2 separate regions of the Homo sapiens genome follow, and region 2 is linked to region 1. Evidence: promoter capture Hi-C in human tissues and cell types (Jung and others, 2019). All regions are on one chromosome and are shown on one strand. The core of a region is centred on a gene start or on the middle of the fragment in contact, and the rest is flanking DNA. Distances in the headings are between cores, read along the strand shown. Region 1 holds the start of GLRB (glycine receptor beta). Region 2 has its middle 24 kb from the start of CTSO.

Evidence for each region. Contacts are between HindIII fragments. The study calls those that stand out against the background at their distance.
Region 2: a fragment that was not itself captured here is called in contact with the fragment with the promoter of GLRB in region 1 in 1 of the 25 tissues and cell types used here (lymphoblastoid cells).

What each region holds. Positions count from the first base shown.
Region 1 is chr4:157,072,352-157,077,728 of GRCh38, forward strand. GLRB (glycine receptor beta) reads left to right here and starts at 3,799. Exons shown (of 10, transcript NM_000824.5): 1 at 3,799-3,946. RefSeq lists a silencer at 906-1,200. The HindIII fragment of the contact is 3,601 bases long and covers 2,907-5,377 here.
Region 2 is chr4:155,975,217-155,980,098 of GRCh38, forward strand. No RefSeq gene overlaps it. Among named protein-coding and RNA genes, the nearest start is that of CTSO, 24 kb to the left of the region's middle. The HindIII fragment of the contact is 6,587 bases long and covers 1-4,882 here.

The DNA of each region.
Region 1 (5,377 bases), core at 2,549-5,048:
TAGGGCTGTATTTAGGTTTTATTATCAAGTCAAATAAAATAAATATATTATAGGCCAGGTGAAGATGGATGCATAGAAAATAGAGTCCTTAGCTACCCAGGAGTCTGAGGTAGGAAGTTTGCTTGAGCATGAGAGGAGGAGGTTGCAGTGAATCAAGATCATGCCACTGTACTCCAACCGGGGCGACAGAGCCAGACCCTGTTTCAAAAAGAAAAAAAAAAAGAAAAAAGAAAGAAAAGAAGGTTAGAAGGTTTTTAGTGTTTAGATGTAGGCCTACAAAATGTTCTCAGTGTAGACGTACAAGAAAGAAATGGATAACAGGGTCCCAGTAAGCAAAAAATGCATGTACCCACAAAAATTAAAAATAATTAAAAAAAAAACAGCCACAACAAAATTCTATCATTCCATTAAGCAAATAAAAACAAGCAAAAATAGGGGAGGTTAATTCTTTGTGACTTTTCTTCTCTGCAGCAGATTTTTAACGTCAATTAACCTGTTTATTTCTTGGTACAATCCTGCAAATTATGCATTGTCATTTTCATTTTACTAATAAAGAAACATGAAATTTGAAGAAATTAATAAATGAGGCCAAGATTTACACATTCATTCAACACTATTCTAGGTGTGTGGGCAACATCAATGGACAAAAATAGATACAAATCTCTGCCTTCATGAAGCCTACATTTTAGCAAGGAAACAGAGGCCACAAACTGTAAGTATATTGTATGATGAGTTGGGAGGTAATAAGTACTATGAAAACAAAAAGAAAAGCAGGCAAAGGGGGATTGGAAATCTTTGGATGGGAGATGGTTTGCACTTTTAAATAACATTGGATAAATCTCTGTGAGACGGTGACATCTGGGTTGATGTTGAAGATATGAGGGAGTCAGTCATGTGGTGGTCTGGGGGGAAAGCATTTTAGACAGAGGAGCCAATAACCTAAGATGGGACCATACCTGGCTTTGGCATGTTGGAGAAGCAGCAAGATCAGCAGGGCTGAAAGAGAGCGAGCCATTAGGAGAGAAGAAGTCAGAGTTAGGGGGAGGAGATGCATAACAATTGAAGGTTTGTAGACCATTGTAAACACTGGTTTATAAAATGGGGACTAACTGCTGGGTGTTGAGTTGAGGAATGACACAATATGACCTATGACATGTTTTAAAGGGATCACTCTGGCTACTGTTTTGAGATTACTCAAGGGTAGGAGAGGACAATGATAGAGGCAGGGTGAGTAGCTAAAGTGCTATTATAGTAATCTAACGTAGAGATGAAAGTCACTGAGTCTAGGTTGGCTGCAGTAAAAATCATAAGAAGTAGCTGAATTCCTGTTGTCATTTGAGAGTAAACAGGATTTCCTCAGAGATTTGGTTGTGAGGTGTGAGAAAAAGAGCGGAATCAAGAACAACTTCATGATTTTTAGCCTGACCAACCCTAAGGATGAGGTTGCCGTGAACTGAGAAGGAGAAGGCTGAATGTGGGGCAGATTTTAGGGAGAACCATAGCTCAGTTTGGGACACACTGAGTTTGACATGTTTATTAAATACGCAAGTTGAAATGTTGAAAAGGCAGTTAGATAGATGAGTCTGGAGTTCTGGAGAGATGTCTAGTCAGGAGAAGTACATATGGGAGCTATCAACATGGTGTTTAAAACCTTGTGACCAGATGAAATTACTAAAGGAGTGAATATTGATAGAAATAAATAGAGAAAAGTAGATCAACACTTGACAGAATTGGGGAAAATAGGTTATTTCATGACATTATTTAGAAGCATCCCTTTTCACACTATGATATAAAAGTTATAGAAATATAGGTAAGCAGATCACTTTCATAGAAAAAAATTTTCAGAATTCTGAACTTGACCATTTTACAGGCTAGAAGAAGTGCTTTTAGGGCATCAACTATATTTCTTAACCTTTGGGCCAAAACCCTACAAACCCATCCAACCTGCTGGACTTGCTTTTCTTCTGAATAACCTAATTCTCCAATATAACATCCATGGATGGCACAGAAACAATACTAGGGAAGGTGAGCAAGTCTGTTGTAGGTATTTTCAGCATAGTTCTTCCAAATGTGGACATTAGAGTTTGTAAATAAAAGATGTTCATTTTATTACAGGAATCGGAATTCCTATTATTCTAAACTCTTAATAATTTCTTGATTAATTGAAAACTAAGTGTAAGGTTTTCGCCAACTTCTAAACTCCCCTGGCTGCATGAAAACTAATTCCTTTATCATTCTTCATATGACCTATTCACCAAAAGTTATATCTTATGAAACGTATATTATCAATATAGTTCTCTCTAATAAAGCATTAAAATCCAAAGTTATATCCTGATCCACTTTGGCGGGGGGGTCTTCAAACAGTACAGCTCTTTGAATAATGATCATTTTGTAATGTAAATAAGGTAATGATCACTTATTAATGATCACTACTCTTAGGCAGCAGAATATCTCATGAAGCTTATGGAACACGGTTATATGCAGGAAATATTCCTTCCCTCCATATGCTGCGGGTGGAAAAATTTATTAGTGGATACATCTGTGGGTCCACAATACAATGCTAAGTGATGCTCACTTGAGACAATGCTTTTTTAATAAAAAAAATCCATCAGGACCTGGTGCAGTGGGGTGGGGTGGCTCAAGCCTGTAAGCCCCCCAGCTTGGGAGGCTAAGGCAGGCGGATGGCTTCAGGCCAGAGTTGGAGACCATCCTGGACAACAAAGCCAGAGATGCTGTCTCTTAAAAAATAATAATAATAATTAGTGGAGCGCAATGGCCTGTCTGTTGTTCCAGCTACTCTACTAGGGAGACCGAGACAAGAGGATCTCTTGATTGCCCAGAAGTTCAAGACTGCGGTGAGCGATGACTGTGCCTCTGCACTCCAGCCTGGGCAACAAAGTGAGCTCCTGTTGCTTAAAAAATAACAATTAAAAAAAATCAATCAGGCATACATTCAAGAGGTAATAGGATAGCCTTATCTGTTATCTAAGGGCTGCATATCCAAGTAAGGGCTACTTCTTCACAAGGATGAGGACAACAGTATTTTGCTCTTATAAGGCAGAGACCCTGTCTGGTTCAGATATGCAAAAATCACTAATTTTGAATCTCTGGTAAATTTCTTTCAAGATCTGTAACTCTAAGTAAATCTCTTAATATAACTGAGTTTCAGATTCTTCATCTACAGAAGGGGATGACAAAACTTGCCCAGGAATGTGGTGAGGGCCACATGAGATAAGGCGAGTGAAAGGTGTTTTGCAACTGTCAAGTTCTGTACACATGTTAATTATGTAACAGATGTTAAACATAGTATTACCTGTATGACTATATTGTCAGTAATTTTGACCAATTTAAGCTTGCTCAGAAAGTTCAGGCTTTTAGAAATTGGAAGACCCGGAGATTAAGCTGGATGTCTGGGTTCCAGGCAAATGGTGAAATGACAGAAAATGTGTTTTGTTCGCTTTGACCCAAGAAGGTCATTTGTTGCTCTGTTGTTTGTTGCTAGTGGTCAAAAGCTGACCCCAAGCAATCCCAGCTCCTTGAAAGGTTTTTTCTTTTTGTACCGACACTATCATTCCCGCCCTTCGTCCCCAACTCCTTTAGTCCCCTAAGGAGTGAGGGGGGTACACATTTCTGCTCGGTAACCCCTCCAATGCCTGAAGGGGACGATGCCGTGACGTTGCTCTGTCGGGACACCTCTTCCCTCCCCCGCCCGCGGTCGCCAGGTTCCCCCGCGGCCCGCGCTGTCCCCGCTGCGGCCCCGACCGCGGCGCGCCACGGCGCAGGCTCCGCGGCCCGAGCAGGCGCGTCAGCCGAGCTCGGCGGTGGCGCGGGCGGCTGGGACGCAGCTGCCCCCGCTCGGCGCCCGCTGCACCCTTAGCAGCCACTGCCACCTGGGCCCGGAGCCTCCACGATCTCGCCCGGCGATTGTGGGCAGGGGCGCCTCCGGGTAAGTGCCAGGAGCTCCACTTAGGAGGAGGGGACGCGGGTTGGGGCGGCGACGGTGGTCTGAGGACGGGAATAGACGCCTTTGCGGAAACAGCGGGTCAAGCCCGGGGCGGCGGAGCGCGAGGAGCACTGCGGCGTGCCCGGGAGGACGCGCGCTGCCCTGCGCGGGAGAGGGGCGCGGGGCGCCTGGCAGCGGCAGCCGGGTCCCCGCTGCGGTGGCGCCCGCGGAGACGCTCCGGGTGGAGAGATGCAGAGGGCCGGGGTAATTAGGAAACGCAAGGTTGGCCAGGAGGGCTCCTTGCGTTGTTTTGTTTATGAGGATCCTCCAGTCAATGCAGCTGTCCCCCTTGAAAGATTGGGGGTGAGGACAGAGCAGAGTGGTGAATTTCTCTGTTTTTCGAAGCGTTAGGGGGGCTCGGCCCTCCTTTTTGCGGGGGCAAGGATGTGAAAGTGGGAGAAGTACCTGCTGCTGTGGGCAAGGTGTCTGGAAGCAGGTGCCGCTGTCGGATGGGGGAAGGGAGCGTCCAATGTTGTGAAGTTGCCAGAGGAGAACCTTGTGTTGTTGCTGTTGGTCTGATGAGCCCCCTCTGTTGTCTTCAATTTAAAGTACCCAGGGAGAAGCCCCTCTGGCTTGCCTGGAGTGTGTGTAAAAGATAAATATGGGGGGAAGAATCCTGGGGGGGGGGGGGGAAGATGAAAAACATGACATAAGGAGAAGCAAATTTCTGAGGGTGAGATGGGAATTAAGTTAGCGTTGAAGAATATGACAGGTCTTTTACTCTGCGGAAAACAATGAAAGAGAAACAATTTATGGTTTGGAAATGAAGGTTGCAGAAGAGTTTGAACTTCTCTAGTGTAGGTAGAGGCTTAATTATTTTTTATTTATCAGAATCTCTGGCAAGAATATGGTTCTGATTTGAGCATGAAAATGTTATTAAAATATGGCTAGGACGATAATTTGAAAAAAATGTAACAACACTTGTTTTATTTCTTGTTGTAGAATTTCTGAAGTAATCTTTTTGATGACAAATGTTAGTAGCAAATAAGTAAGAAAGCTTTAAAGCTAACTTAAGAGGCACCTTTTTGGGGCAAAAAGGTAGCTTGCCAATGTAATGTGTTTAAATAAAAAAAGCAATGAATTTTGAATGTGGAACTCTTTGATATTAACTTTTTCTTTTATCTGTCTTTTTTAATACTTAGAATTTCTTTTTCTTTAAAATACATTATTTTTGAAAAAATATACATAAGAACTTCAAACAATATAAAAATTTAAAAAGAAAAAGATACTTCCAAAGTACTAGCCGAAGATAATCATTTTAACGCTGTGTTAAACCATGCTTCCAGATATCTTTCTGAACATATTTTTGATATACTGTGCAATTCAATATCAATTTATAATTTTGTGTAGCTATAGAATCAGAAATTTTATACA
Region 2 (4,882 bases), core at 1,515-4,014, 1.1 Mb before region 1:
TTGCCAAACGTTTGGGAGAAAGCTGTTTAACAAGCATATGCAGTTATTAGCAGATGGAAATCTAGGCTTTTGGGGATTGGGCACACTGAAATAGCAAGGCCTGAGGGATATGAGCATGCACAGACAGCTCTGACAGCAATAATAGCAAATACAATAGCACTGTCTTGGAAAGTGAGGGGTTAGAATAACAAACTACACCAGACTGAAGCCTCTGCTGTCAAACCTGAAAGAGAGGTGAGGCGTATGGCTAGACAATGCATTGGAATCTTCAGCCACATCAAACATTAGAAGTCCACAGGAATTAATAAGGTTATCTGCTGTTCAAGTATTTCTCCCTTCAAGGGTGAAGGGTTTGTTCCCTAAGCAGATAGGAGTGCAACCTAAAGATGCCCGCGAGGCATCAGTCTCCACATATGCTTCAGTTGAAGAACACTGTGTTGTCCTGGGTCTTAAGTACTTCAGGGACATTCTGCATTCCATGACTGATCTACACATGGATTCTTTGAAAATCCTTCTTAGTCCTAAAGCTCCATATAAGGTCAACTGTGGCTTTTGTTTGGTCTGCATTTCAGCTCAACTTCTCTGCCTAATCTGGCTTCTTTTTCCCCTCTTCTACAGGTGCCAATTTCAGGAACACTCCTCTAGTAAACATCCTGAACAATTATCAGCTTCCCATAAAACCCAACTTGAAGCAATCAGAATACTTTAGCACTTCTTATAATGCTAAGTTGAGATGGTACCATTTCCTAAATATGAAGAAAAAGTAAACATGATTCCTGTAAATGTCTTACAATTTTCTGATTCTGAAATATTATGTAAGATGTTATTCTTATATAAACTCAGTAGCTCCTTATGAAAGTTAATTAGCCAAGATCCCATAGGTCAAAACACATGACTAGTGTTTAGTCAGTCAATAGTGTTGGGGCTCAGAAAATGATACCTTAAGGTATGTTGCTTTGGCATTCTGAGTGCTTTGAATTAAAGGAAATTGGAAGGTCTTAGAAGCTGCCTCACAATCAAGGTCTCTCTGACTTTCCCTTGTTTCTCCTCCACAAGTGTGGGAGGGGCTTTCTCTGAAGTTCTATTATCTGACGCAGGGAAGTTCTTCCAAAAGGAATGCAATTGTCTGGAACCCCTCCCTAAGAATCTCATCCAAAACCCAGGGAATATTAATCACAGAGAGGAGATTAAAAGTCATCCCTGCACCCGGACTGGCTATCACTTATTCCCCGGGAGGCTGCCCTCAAACAAGTTTTATCACCTGAGAGTCTTTATTTGCATAGTAAGACAACCAGTGTTCCCCTGCAGTGCCTCCCCTCTTCCTCTCACAACTTGTTGCCACCTCCCTCCAAAGCTCAAGCCGCTATTCCTTTATGCTTAGAAACTTCAATCCTCTGGTCCTTTGAGTCTCGTATTCTTCTGTGAGGTTCCTGTGTGCATGCATGTAACTAACATGTTTTTTCTCCTGCTAATCTGTTTATTGCTATTTTATTTCAGCAGACCTCATTATTCCTTCAGAGGGAAAGTTTAAACTTCCCTACACTAGAAGACAGAAAATCCTGTTTTGCAAATTAAAAACAATTTTAATTATGAAAATGATAAGCTTAAAGCCATTTTTAAGATATTTTTATAAACCTAATTTTATTTATGATATATACATGTTTTATTCTAAATAAAAATGGATTAAATATTAATAAATGATCAGAGTGTTTCATAATTCAGGAGGCTTTGTTCAAAAGTCACATCATTATCTATGGCTATGTGAATTTTACCACCTTTTAAATGCAGTTTTAAAGAAGATACTTAGCTTCTTTTTCTTTGGTCAATTTTATCCCTAGTAACAAATGGTTAATTCCTTTTTTTGTTGTTGTTTTTTTTTTTTGAGACAGGGTCTTCCTCTATTGCCCAGGCTGGAGTGCAGTGGCCTGATCTCGGCTCACTGCAACCTCCTTCTCCCGGATTCAAGCGGTTCTCCTGCCTCAGCCTCCTGAGTAGCTGAGATTACAGGTGCCCACCACCAAGCCTGGCTAATTTTTGTGTTTTTAGTAGAGACGGTTTCGTCATGTTGGCCAGGTGGCTCTCAAACTCCTCACTTCAGGTGATCTGCCTGCCTGGGCCTGCCAAAATGCTGGAATTACAGGTGCAAGCCACTGCGCCTGGCCGACAATTAAAAATTTTAATCACCAAATAATCATGAACTAAGTTCTTCATTAATTCAGCTCTTATTATAGAAAGATATAAAACAAATTTTCAGAGCTTGTGTTGAGCACCAGAATTCCCAAGTCAGAGGCTGTCAGCTAGGAGCAAGATGCTTCCTAGTGTAACCGTTCAATGGGTTCACCTTGCCCGCTGCCTTGACAGAGCCGATTTATCAAGACAGGGGAAATGCAATGGAGAGAGAGTAATTCACACAGAACCAGCTGTGCGGGAGACCGGAGGAGTTTTATTAGTACTCAAATTAGTCTCCCTGAGCATTCAGGGATCAGAGTTTTTCAAGATAATTTGGGGAGAAGAAGCTCGGGAAGTGGGGTGGGGAGTGCTGATTGGTGGATTGAAGATGGAATCACAGTGGGGTCAAAGTGAAGTTTTCTTGCTGTCTTCTGTTCCGTGGGTGGGATTACAGAACTGGTTGAACCAGATTACCAGTCTGGGTAGCATCAGCTGATCCATCGAGTCCAGGATATGCAAAATATCTCAAGCACTGATTTCAGGTTTTACAACAGTGATGTTATCCCCAGGAATAATTTTTGGGAGGTTCAGACTCTTGCAGCCAAAGGCTGCATGACCCCTAAACCATAATTTCTAATCTTGTAGTTAATTTGTTATTCCTGCAAAGGCAGACTGGTCCCCAGGCAAGAAGGTGGTCTTTTTGGGAAAGAGCTATTATCAGTTTTGTTTCAGAGTCAAATCGTAAACTAAATTCCTTTCCAAGGTTAGTTTAGCCTACACCCAAGAATGAACAAGGATAGCTTAAGGTTAGAAGCAAGATGGAGTTGGTTAAGTCTGATCTCGTTCACTGTCACAATTTTCTGTTATAATTTTTGTGAAGGTGGTTTCACCAGGGGCTTTTTAGATAAATGGGCGTGTGCTTGTGTTGCTGCTTCAGTGATGGGGAACTCAAGTGGCACTTATGTAGCAATGGCCACAGGTATAAAATAGCCTGAATAACCTGAAATAATCTCATATAACACATCAACTTGTCTTAAATTTAAAAAGCAGACATACCATGAAAAGATGTAGAAAACAGTCCGTTTGTAAATGGAAATGTAAACTAGACAAGATATATTGGGCAAGTCACTTGTTTTCTAATACTAAATAGTAACATCACTCTTCCTTTCAGAGTTCATAAAAGCATTTTGCAACCATTAAAGTTCTATACAAACTTTATTTATTAAAGAACATGTGGTTGGGCGTGGTGGCTCACACCTATAATCCCAGCACTTTGGGAGGCCAAGGCTGGTGGATCACGAGGTTGGGAGATGGAGACCATCCTGGTTAATATGGTGAAACCCCATCTCCAGCCTGGACAACAGAGTGAGACTCTAGCTCAAAAAAAAAAAAAAAAAGTGTTATTTGAAAAATATATCCAGGCTCACAAATTGAATCAGATAATGGTATTTGAACAAAATTCATGTGGTGATTTACTTAGTTTCATGAAGTCTTTAGAACCTAATTTCTGTACTCTTTAAATTTTGTAAGACTTAAGTGAAATATATTTAATTTTGTTATATAGCAAATAATATATGGATGGGAGAGGAGAAAGGAAGAAACCTGTCCGGTAGGCAGTTAGGGTGGGTCCTCAGTTAGATTCTTTCAAACAAAAGAACACCCTGTGGCACAGATAAGGGAAATTGCACAGGCGTCTTCCCTAAGACATGCCCACAGCCACACAGATAAAAAAGTCGGCCAGGCGCTGACTTTCATTTGATTTCATTTTTGACCCTATGATCATTCAGGAGCAGGTAATTTAGTTTCCATATATTTGCATGTTTTTGAAGGTTCCTTTCGGAGGTGATTTCCAGTTTTATTCCACTGTGGTCTGAGGAGTGCTTGAAATAATTTCAATATTCTTAAGTTTATTGAAGCTCGTTTTGTGGCCTATCATATGGTCTATCTTGGAGAAAGTTCTATGTGCTGTTGAATAGAATGTGTATTCTGTGGTTGTTGGATAGAACATTCTGTATATAACTGTTAAGTCCATTTGTTCCAAGATATAGTTTAAATGCGTTGTTTCTTTGTTGACTTTCTGTCTTGATGATGTGTCTAGTGCTGTCAGTGGAGTATGGAAGTTCCCCACTATTATTGTGTTGCTGTCTATCTCATTTCTTAGGTCTATTAGTAATTGTTTTATAAATTTGGGAGTTCTAGTGTTAGGTGCATTTATGCTTACCGTTGTGATATTTTCCTGTTGGAAAAGGCCTTTTATCATTATATAATGTCCCTTTTTGTCTTTTTTAACTGCTGTTGCTTTAAAGTTTGTTTGGTCTGATATAAGAATAGCTACTCCTGTTCATTTTTGGTGTCCGTTTGTCTAAAATGTCTTTTTCCACCCCTTTACCTTAAGTCTGTGGGAGTCCTTCTGTGTTAGGTGAGTCTCTTGATTACTGAGGAAGATTTTTATTTGCTCTCCTTTGCTTATAAAGTACTACAATTAAGTGATACTATAGCTTTCTCCCTCTACACCCTGAACATCCCTCTTCCTGTGTTTTCTTCTGTGACTGCGTTTTTTCTGCTAGAGATAAGAATTCTTTTTATTATGTGGTAATGAGAAGGGGAGCTTAAAGCAACTGGGGCCCTTTCTGCTTAAAGTTCCAATTGAAAACAGATTTTCTTTCTTGTGTAGGACAAAAAATTTCCCATACAACTCTGGAAATTATTGTTT